Linked DNA regions of Homo sapiens: region 1 is linked to region 2. Evidence: promoter capture Hi-C in 16 types of primary human blood cells and fetal thymus (Javierre and others, 2016). All regions are on one chromosome and are shown on one strand. The core of a region is centred on a gene start or on the middle of the fragment in contact, and the rest is flanking DNA. Distances in the headings are between cores, read along the strand shown. Region 1 has its middle 34 kb from the start of PRSS54. Region 2 holds the start of SLC38A7 (solute carrier family 38 member 7).

Region 1 (5,562 bases), core at 648-3,147, 360 kb after region 2:
AGGACTTGGCACAGAGGGGAGCCTAAGAAATGTTGCGTGAATGACTGACTGAGTGAAGGAATAAATAACAGTGATAAATGACTTTGCGAGTGAATCGGTGAATGAATAAATGAATGAATGAATGAATGAGTGATTGAATGGAAGCGAGGTTCACAAGTCCCTTGTAGCATTTCTTTCATCCATGTAGCTTGCCCAGAGCTTTCAAAACAACTTCTGAAACGTTCTTTTGGGAGCAGGACTTTGATTTCTCTTACATGTTTATTTCTGCAAAATTGAGTAGCTTTACCGCTGGCAGATAGAAGGTGTTCCCAATTTCTTTTCTTTTTTTTTTTTTTGAAACAGAGTTTCACTCTTGTTGCCCAGGCTGGAGTGCAATGGCATGATCTCAGCTCACCACAACCTCCACCTCCCAGGTTCAAGGGATTCTCCTGCCTCTGCTTCCCGAGTAGCTGGGATTACAGGCATGTGCCATGACGCCTGGCTAATTTTGTATTTTTAGTAGAGATAGGGTTTCTCCATGTTGGTCAGGCTGGCCTTGAACTCCCGACCTCAGGTGATCTGCCCGCCTCGGCCTCCCAAAGTGCTGGGATTACAGGCGTGAGCCACTGCCTCCGGCCAGGTGTTCCCAATTTCTTAATTGTCAAGCATCTCTTGCCATGACAGCCAGCCTCTGCACATTGGACTCACCTGGGGGGCTTTAAAGCCATACTGATGCCTGGGTCTCACACCCAATGTCTGAGTCAATTGGTCTGGTGTAGTCAGAAAGGCAATTATTAAAAAGTCAAGAAACAACAGATGCTGGCGAAACTGCAGAGAAATAGGAACGCTTTTACCCTGTTGGTGGGAATGTAAATTAATTCAACAACTGTGGATGGCAGTGTGGCAATTCCTCAAGGATCTAGAACCAGAAATATTTGACCCAGCAATCCCATTACGGGGTATATATTTGGGTATATACCCAAAGGAATATAAATCATTATATTATAAAGATACATGCACATGTATGTTTATTGCAGCCCTATTCACAATAGCAAAGACTTGGAACCAACCCAAATGCCCATCAATGATAGACTGGATAAAGAAAATGTGGTACATATACAGCATGGAATACTATGTAGCCATAAAAAGCAATGAGATCATGTTCTTTGCAGTGACATAGATAAAGCTGGAAGCCATCATCCTCAGCAAACTAACACAGGAACAGAAAACCAAACACCTCTATATTCTCACTCATAAGTGGGAGATGAACAATGAGAATACATGGACACAGGGAGGGGAACAACACACACTGGGGCCTGTCGATGAGGCAGGGGAGGGAAAGCGTCAGGACTAATAGCTAATGCATGCTGGGCTTAATACTTACATAATGGGTTGATAGGTACAGCAAACCACCATGGCACATGTTTACCTATGTAACAAACCTGCATGTTCTGCACATGTATCCCGGAACCTAAAATAAAATAAAAATTTTTTTAAAAAATTGGTCTTGGGTGTGACCAGGACATGGAAGATTCTAAAAGCCCTTAGATGATTCTAACGTGCCTCCAAGTTCACAAACCACTGCATTAATGCTTGGTTGCAGTTTTCTTAAATGGTTTTTTAAAAAATAGAGACTGGGTCTTGCTCTGTCACTCAGGCTACAGTGCAGTGGCACAATCATGTTCACTGCAGCCTTGATCTCCTGGGCTCAAGCAAGCTTCCCACCTCAGCCTCCAGAGTAGCTGGGACTACAGGTGTGTGCCACTACGCCTGGTTACTTTTATTTTTAAAGTCGCAAGCCATGACTCTAATGTTCCCTTATGTGGAAACAGAAGGATATTCAGCACAACCATGGTAGATGCTTGATTTTGCTCTAGAATTTGATGCCATTTCTTTGAGTCTTATTATATTTGGGACCTGAAAGCTGGTAGCTTCTTGGGATTATAGGCATGAGTCACACAGCCTGACCCCACTTGCTCTTGCACAATAGTTTAAGGCTGCCAAAGTGAGAAATTTTTAGGAGCTCGATAAACCTGGAGGCTTATCTTTCTCTCTTTCCTAGTCTGTAAATAAACAGAGCAAGGTGAAGCCAGCATCATAATGTGACATTCCAAGCTTTACATAGTCACTTAGGTAACAATCTATTAAAATTTTATATTTATAGCTAAAACATCTTTTTTAGCTCCATATGTTTGATTTGTTAAAACTATTATACCTTGCTTTTGAAGAAACAAAATGCCTAACCTCCATGTTTTGGTTAAATAAGCTTAAATATTTGTTGTTTTGGGTGATATTTTGTTGGCAATGTTTGTTGTTTCTCTTAGTACAATGTGACAAAAAGTAATCCACTTCAATATTCATGACTAATTCTTAAATTAGATATGGTTCTGTCTAATGACTTCACAAATACTAGCCTTCCTTAGTCTGGATTTTAAAAATTATTATGGTAAAAAACACATTACATAAAATCGACCATAACATAAAATCGACCACTGTATTATAGATTTTTTTAATAATTTTTTTTTGAGACAGAGTCTCATTCTATTACCCAGCCTGGAGTGCAGTAGAGCAGTCTCAGCTCACTGCAGCTTCAACCTCGTGGACTCAAGCAATCCTCTCACCTCAGCCTCCCAAGTAGCTGGGACCACCATGCCTGGCTATTATTTATTTATTTATTTGTATTTTTTGTAGAGACAGGGTTTCACCATGTTGCCCAGACTGGTTAACCATTTTAAAGTGTACGACTTAGGCATGTTAAATACATTCTCAATGTTTTGCAACCATCCCCACTATCTAGCTCCAGAACTTTTTCATCATTTCTGTACCCCATTAAGCAGTCATTCTCCATTCTCTCTCTCCACAGGATTCCATTTATATAAAATTTCCAGAATAGGCAAATCCACAGATGCAGAAAGCAGATTAGTGGTTGCCGGCGGGGTGGGGATGGGGAGAAATGGGGAATGGCTGTTAATGAAGATGGGATTTTTTCTTTTCTTTTCTTTTCTTTTTCTTTTTCTTTTCTTTTTTTTTTTTTTGAGACAGAGTCTCTTGCTGTCGCCCAGGCTAGAGTGCAGTGGTGCCATCTCGGCTGACTGCAACCTCCACCTCCTGGGCTCAAGCGATCCTCCCACCTCAGCCTCCCAAGTAGCCGGGACTACAGGCATGCATCAGCATGTCCAGCTAATTTTTGTATTTTTTAGTAGAGATGGGATTTCATCATATTGGCCAGGCTGGTCTCAAACTCCTTACCTCAGGTGATCCTCCCACTTCAGCCTCCCAAAGTGCTGGGATTAAAGGCGTGTGCCACCACCTGGCCAAGGGATGGAGTTTTTTCAGTGGTAATAAAAATGTTCTGGCCAGGCATGGTGGCTCACGCCTGTAATCCCAGCACTTCAGGAAGCTGAGATGGGCGGATCACCTCAGGTCAGGAGTTTGAGACCAGCCTGACCAACATCGAGAAACCCCGTCTCTATCAAAAATACAAAATTAGCCAGGCGTGGTGGCGCATGCCTGTAATCCCAGCTACTCGGGAGGCTGAGGCAGGAGAATCACTTGAACCCGGGGAGGCAGAGGTTGTGGTGAGCTGAGATCGTGCCGCTGCACTCCAGCCCAGGCAACAAGAGTGAAACTCCGTCTCAAAAAAATAAAAATAAAAATAAAACAAAAATGTTCTAAAACTGGTTATAGTGATGGATGCACCAACCTGTGAATATGGTAAAAAACATTTTTGCACCTTAAGTGGGTAAATTGTATGGTGGGATGTGAATTATATCTCAGTATATCTGCTTTTTAACAAAACCAACAAAACACCTTATGTCTAACTTGTTGAGCTCCAAATAAGCCTTTGAGTTGTGATATTTATTGTTTTGCTAAAGTGTTTCACTCTGGGAAGTTTAACAAAATGAGCACCTCACCTCAGGCAGCTCTCAAAGGGAAAACAAAGTTCCTCATCCTTACTTCTTGGGCAGACTTAACTGACTGCTGTATTTTATTTTTCTTACTTCCAGAGTGTTTTAAGAGTAGGCATTTTCCTCTGAGTACAGCTCTAGTGTTATCCATGAGTTTTTATATGGAGTGTTTTTATTAGCATTATTTCCCAAATATCTTATAAATGTATTTTTGCTCTAGAGCAGTTCCATAGAAAGGCTTGACATTCTCAAACGTCTTTCTGCATCTACTTTTTATTTTATTTTATTTGTTGCCAACTACAAAAGACATCCAATGCTTCTACTTTTAACTTATTTCCTGCGTTCTTGCATTATGATCAGGAATATGACGGTACAATTTCCAATTTCTTATATACAATGGGCTTTCCTTTTTATTTTATCTCATTGTGTCAAGAACACTTAACATGAGAGCTACCCTCTTAATAGATTTTAAAGTGTACAACACAATACTGTTATTTATAGCTACATTGTTATACAGAGGATCTCTAGAACTTTTTCCTCTTGAATAACTGAAATTTTATATCCACTGACTAGCAACTCCCCATTCCCTCCTCCCTCCAGCCTCTGGCAACCACCATTTTATTCTTTCTTTCTATGAGTTTGACACCATATAAGTAGAATCATGTATTTGTCCTTCTGTGATTCGCTTATTTCTCTTGGCATCCTGTTCTCCAGGTTCATCCATGTTGTCACATAACAGGATTTCTTTATTTTAAAGGCAGAATAATATTCCATTGTGTGTATTATTTATTTATTTAGAGAGAGGATCTTGCTCTGTCACCCAGGCTGGAGTGCACCCAGGTTGCTCGGCACACTGCAACCTCTGCCTCCCAGGCTCAGGTGATCCACCCGCCTCGGCCTCCCAAAGTGCTGGGATTACAGGTGTGAACCACCACTCTGGCCTCCATTGTATGTATATACCACATTTTGTTTACCCATTCATCAGTGGACATCGTTATACCTTTTTCCATTTAATTGAAAAGAAGTCTACTCTTTTCAAAGGATACAGTTCAGAACATTTAGTCATTATATTCTCCTCCTCTGTAATATCCTTACTTTCTTTTCTCTATTTAGTCCAACAAAGACTGAAACAAGTGGGTGAAAGTCTACCACCACTGTTGTATTTTTATTAATTTGTCTTAGTTATTCCCTCCAATTTTACATATGGAACAGGATGCTAAAATGGGACTCTTGTTTTGGCTTCAGCTGAGACTCCGAAGTGGAGTGAGATCAGTGCAACAGATGCCAAGAACTCTACCTCCTAAATTGGGGAGCTAGATTGCCTATGTAGGACATGCTGACGGGCTGTAAAAATGACTAATCCCACAATGCAGAGTAAAAGAGATAAAGTACAAAGATAACTTATAGGAGATTTATATGGTAAAATTTTCTGCCATTGTTAAAAGCTGTACTTTTGAAGAACAATAATATGGAAAAAAAGATCATAACATACTATTAATAGGAAAAAAGCACAGGACGCAAAACTATATGCTTAATCCTAGTTGTTTGAAATACACGTACAGAAAAAAGACAGGAAACAAATAACCTAATTGGGACTTCAGGTACTTTTTCTTTTCCTCTTGACATTTGTCTGAATTTTAGAAATTTTCTACAATAAATATGTGTTGGTTTCTTT
Region 2 (5,393 bases), core at 1,722-4,221:
TTCAGGATTTTAGTAGGGGAGGGTGATCACAATATTCTGAAATTAGATAGTGGTCATCATTGCACAACTCTGAAGAAACTAAAATGCACCTTATTGGACTCTTTCAAAGGGTGGATTTTATGGCATACGAATATCTCAACAAAACTATTCTTATTTTTTAAATTTTTTTTTCCAAGGCAGAGTCTCACTCTGTTGCCCAAGTTGGAGTGCAGTGGCGCAATCTCGGCTCACTGCAGCCTCCACCTCCCAGGTTCAAGTGATTCTCGTGACTCAGCCTCCTGAGTAACAGGGATTACAGACATGCACCACCACACCCAGCTAATTTTTGTATTTTTAGTAGAGACAAGAGTTTCACCATGTTGGCCAGACTGGTCTCGAACTCCTGACCTCAAATGATCTGCCTGCCTCAGCCTCCCAAAGTACTGGGATTACAGGCATGAGCCACCATGCCTGGCCTCAATAAAGCTATGTTAAAAAAAAAAAGGCAGACAATTCAAATGTCCTTCAAAGAGTGATGGGTAAGTAAACTGTGGTACATACATACCACTGAATACTACTCAGCAATAAAACCTATCTGTGTTGACGTATATAGCTTAGATGAATCTCTTCTAGGGAATTTTACTGAGTTAAAAAAAAAAAGGCAATCTTAGAAAATTACAGACTGTGTGGTCTATGAACTGAATGTTTGTGTTCATCCCAAACTGATATGTGGAAACCCTAATCCCCAACGTGATAGTATTTGGAGACGTGCCTTTGGGAGGTAATTAGGTAATTAAAGCCCTCATGATGGGATTAGTACTATTTTTTTTTTTTTTGAGACAGAGTCTTACTCTGTCACCCAGGCTGGAATGCAGTGGCACGATCTCGGCTCACTGAAACCTCTGCCTCCTGGGTTCAAGCAATTCTCCTGCCTCAGCCTCCTGAGTAGCTGGATTACAGGCGCATGCCACCACACCCAGCTAATTTGTTTTGTATTTTTAGTAGAGATGGGGTTTCACCATGTTGGTCAGGCTGGTCTTGAACTCCTGACCTCATGATCTACCTGCCTCGGCCTCCCAAAGTGCTGGAATTACAGGCGTGAGCCACCACACCCAGCCGCAGGATTAGTTCACTTATAAGAAGAAACAAGACCAGGCATGGTGGCTCATGCCTGTAATCCAAGCACTTGGGGAGACTGAGACAGGAGGTTCACTTGAGCCCAGGAGTTTGAGGCCATTCTGGGCAACATAGGAAGACCTTGTCTCTATAAAAAATGAAAAGTTAGCTAGGCATGATGGCACGCATGCCTGTAGTCTCAACTATTTGGGAGGCTGAAGCGGGAGGACTAGTGGAGCCTGGGAGATGGCGACTGCAGTGAGCTGTGATTGCGCCACTGCCCTCCAGCCTGGGCAACAGAGACCGTGTCTCTAAAAATAATAATAATAATAAAATAAATAAAAATAAGAGAGAGTTTACTTTCCCTCTCTGCTTTCCGCAATGTGAGGACACAGCAGGAAGATGGCCATCTGAAAACTATGAAGATGGTCCTCCCCAGAACTTGACTCTGCTGGCATTCTGACCTCAGTCTTGACAGCTTCCAGGACGGTGAAAAATAAATCTCTGTCGTTTAAACCACCCAGTCTATGATACTCTGTTATAGCGGCCTTAACTGATTAAGACAGTATGATTCTATTTTTTTTTTTTTTTTTGAGACAGAGTCTCACTCTGTCTCCCAGGCTGGAGTGCAGTGGCACGATCTCTGCTCACCGCCACCTCCGCCCCCCGGGTTCAAGTGATTCTCCTGCCTCAGGCTCCCGAGTAGCTGGGACTACTGGCGTGCACCACCATGCCCAGCTAATTTTTGTATTTTTAATAGAGACAGGACTTCGCCATGTTGGCCAGGCTGGTCTCGAACTCCTGACCTCAAGTGATCAGCCCGCCTTGGCCTCCCAAAGTGCTGGGATTACAGGTGTGAGCCACCGCACTCAACCAGTATGATTCAATTTATATAAACTTTTTGGAGGCCAGGCACGGTGGCTCATGCCTGTAATCCCAGCACTTTGGGAGGCTGAGGTGGGTGGATCACTTGAGGTCAGGAGTTTGAGACCAACCTGGCCAACATGGCGAAACCCCATCTCTACTAAAAATACAAAAATTAGCTGGGAGTGGTGGTGCATGCCTGTAATCCCAGGTACTCGGGAGGCTGAGGCAGGAGAATCACATGAACCCGGGAGGCAGAGGTTGCAGTGAGCAAAGATCGTGCCACTGCACCCCAGCCGGGGAGACAGAGTGAGACTCTGTCTCAAAAAAAAAAAAAAAAAAAAAAAAAAAAAAGGTGTGATTTGGGTTTCTAAGGATTCCCAGTGTGTCCTCATCGGTGAGGACCTCTGATGCATGGAGAGGTAAGTGCAGTGGAGAGCATATCCACAAAACAGAGATGAGGCTATTGGGATGCTGGAGATTACGTGACAATTTATGAGTGACACACAGCCAAGAACAGAACCAGGACTGGATGCCCATTTCGTCATTCAACAAATATTTACTGAGCACCTACAATCCCTCAAAAACTGTTCTAGAGTCTAAACCGATGGGGTCGTAACCATGCCCCCAGCCCACTCCCTTGCAGGAAAGACCGTGGCTCCAGGTCCCCCACATTACTGATTAAAAAAAAACTCCAGTGCTCTGGCCATGGGCGTGAAGGCAAGGACAGAGACCGGGAGGATAATGAGGCCAAACAGCTTTGGCCCACCGCCACCGGGACTGGCAAAGAGGCCAGACCTCCTAATGCTCTTCCTTGGAGGAAGGAGCAGTGTTTGATTTGGTCAAGAGGCCAAGACTAAAAGTAAGAGGATAAACACGAGCTGGCTGGACGCGAGGCTGGCTCAGGGCAGTGCTGTCGGGCTGAGGATTCAGGGAGCTGGTGTTGTCCAAGCTTCACATTTGCGGAAACTACAACTCCCAGCGTGTCCCGCGGCCGCCCGAGCGGGCGTCATGTGATGCATGCTCACGTGTCTCCGCAGCCGGCTCGGGAAAGAATCCCCCAAGGTAGGTGGCCGGAGACAGGCTCTGGAGGGTGGAAGTGTTAGATCCCCGAGGTCTGTGGAGCCCCTCAGTCCCCGCCACCGCGGAAAAGCTCAGACCCTTTCCCTGCAGGGGTCCAGATCCTGGCGTCCTCGCCCCACGCCCGTCCCTCTGTTGCGCCAGCTCTGCCGCGCCTTTACCCAGCCAGAGGGTCTCCACCCAGTCCTAGGCCGGGATCGGGTCCCGGAGCTCCTCCCCAGGTTACCCCACAGTAGCCCACCCTTCTCGCTCCAGGCCTGGGAATCGCCCCGCCCCGGCCTCCTGGCCCGGGTGCGCCCTGGCTCACCTCACAAAGCCTCACCTCACAAAGCAGCCCACCCTTTCTATCTCAGGGCTCCAACCCCAGGCTGGACTGGGAGCACACTCCAGTTGGGATCTGAGGGGCCTACATCGCTGGCCTGAGCATGTGGGCATCAGGCTTCTATTCTGGCTCTGCCAGCTACCCACTGTGACCTTAGTCTAACCTCTCCCTCCTGGGCCTGTTTTCCTATCTGTCCTGAAGCTCCATTTCATGAGTAAGCGTGAGAGCCGCTCAGTTTCCTCCAGCTCTGCTGAAGCCAGCACAGAAGTAGCCCAAACTCTTCCCTCTGCTGACAGCAAATTTTAGGCAAAGTCTTGAGAAAGAAGAAATTGGGTCCAGAAAGGGAAGTGAGGAGAATCAGATCCCAGACCTTTGGGGAGAAGGAGCAACCGCCTCTGGCACAGCCCATCAGGGAGAAAGAGCAGGTAAGGTGCAACAATGAGCTGAGTAATTTGCCAGTGAGCAGTGGGGGTGCCGAGAGGTCTTAACCAAGGCAGAGAATCTGCAAGAGGTGGGACCCCCAGCTTCTGAGTTCCACGAGGACCCCAGCCTGCACTCTCATGTGGGTGGCAGGAGAGGCTGGAGGATGGTGCAGGACTCGGGCAGGGGTGCCCAAGGGAAACATTTTGGTTGGAGAGTCAGGAAGCCGCACCAAGCCTTGTGACCTTGGACGAATCACTCTGTAGACCTCTGTCTCTGTGACGTGAGCAGCGGGGAGGAGATGGTCACAGCTCTGGCAGTGGTCACTTTGCAGGGTTCTTTCTCTAGCTACACTGGAAGCCTGGGAGTCCCAAGACTCTGCCTTCGCTGCTCACTGCTTTGATTTTGCTGAGTTGCTGGTTGGGTGACAGGATGTGTAAGAGGATGTGTAAGCCCTGTGACATCTGACAGATCTTTCTGGGTTTCGAGCCAGCAGAGGAATGTTTCCTCTGGTGCCATGTCCCTTGGTTCCATGCTTGATAACAGATGGCTGAGAGCACATGAACTTTCACCCTTTCCCTCTCATGAGTGGATGGTCCCCAGCTTTGTTTGTCCATCATCAGGAGGAGCAATGGGAAGTAGTCCAAGGGGTCTTGTTAGTCATTTTAAACCCCCAGTGGGCTGAAGGCATCAGAGAGGGTGGCCCAATGGTTAGGGCAGTCATTATGGCTGAATATGCTCAGTTCCCTTTTTTTCCCTCTGGGCTATAAAGACTAAACCAGGCTGGGGGCTGTGGCTCACGCCTGTAATCCCAGCACTTTGGGAGGCCGAGGCAGCAGGATTGCTTGAGCCCAGGAGTTCAAGACCAGCCTGGGCAACATAGTGAGACCTCCTCATCTCTACAGAAAATTTAAACATGACAGGCGTGGGGGGCTTGTCACGTGGGAGAAGTCACATGGGAGAAGAGTTGAGAATTGGCCTGAATTTTGAAAGGCCAATTTTGTTCCCCACAGGAACAAAAAATTTAAAAAGTTGGCCAGGCGTGGTGGCTCACGCCTGTAATCCTAGCACTTTGGGAGGCCAAGGGGGATCACAAGGTCAGGAGTTCAAGACCAGCCTGGCCAACATGGCAAAACCCCATCTCTACTAAAAATACAAAAATTAGCCAGGCATGGTGGCGGGCACCTGTAATCCCAGCTACTCAGGAGGCTGAGGCAGGAAAGTCTCTTGAACCCGGGAGGCAGAGGTTGCAGTGAGCTGAGATTGTGCCATTGCACTCCAGCCTGGGTGACAAAGCAAGACTCCGTCTCAAAAAAAAAAAAAATTTTAAAAGTTAGCTGGCTGTGGTGGCACACACCTGTAGTCCCAGGTACTCGGGAAGTTGAGGTGGGAGGATTGCTTGAGCCTGGTAGATTGAGGCTGCAGTGAGCTCTGATTGCGCCACTGCACTCCAGCCTGGGCAACAGAGTGATACCCTGTCTCTAAATAAATAAAGACTAAACCAGGGAGGGAGTAGAGATTAAAATGGAGTTTTGTATGAGTACCGTGAAATCGGGACTCAGGAATGAGGAGACTCTAGGAGAAGGAGTCTTTGGCAGATTTCGCCAGCCTG

Evidence for each region. Contacts are between HindIII fragments. The CHiCAGO score rates a contact against its expected background, and 5 or more counts as called.
Region 1: a fragment that was not itself captured here is called in contact with the fragment with the promoter of SLC38A7 in region 2 in 1 of 17 cell types (total CD4 T cells); the score reaches 5.6 in total CD4 T cells.

The regions. Positions count from the first base shown.
Region 1 is chr16:58,325,751-58,331,312 of GRCh38, reverse strand. No RefSeq gene overlaps it. Among named protein-coding and RNA genes, the nearest start is that of PRSS54, 34 kb to the right of the region's middle. The HindIII fragment of the contact is 398 bases long and covers 1,699-2,096 here.
Region 2 is chr16:58,682,348-58,687,740 of GRCh38, reverse strand. It overlaps SLC38A7 (solute carrier family 38 member 7), which reads left to right and starts at 2,971. Exons shown (of 12, transcript NM_018231.3): 1 at 2,971-3,024; 2 at 3,563-3,786. RefSeq lists enhancers at 3,185-3,244, 2,755-3,599. The HindIII fragment of the contact is 5,837 bases long and covers 2,914-5,393 here.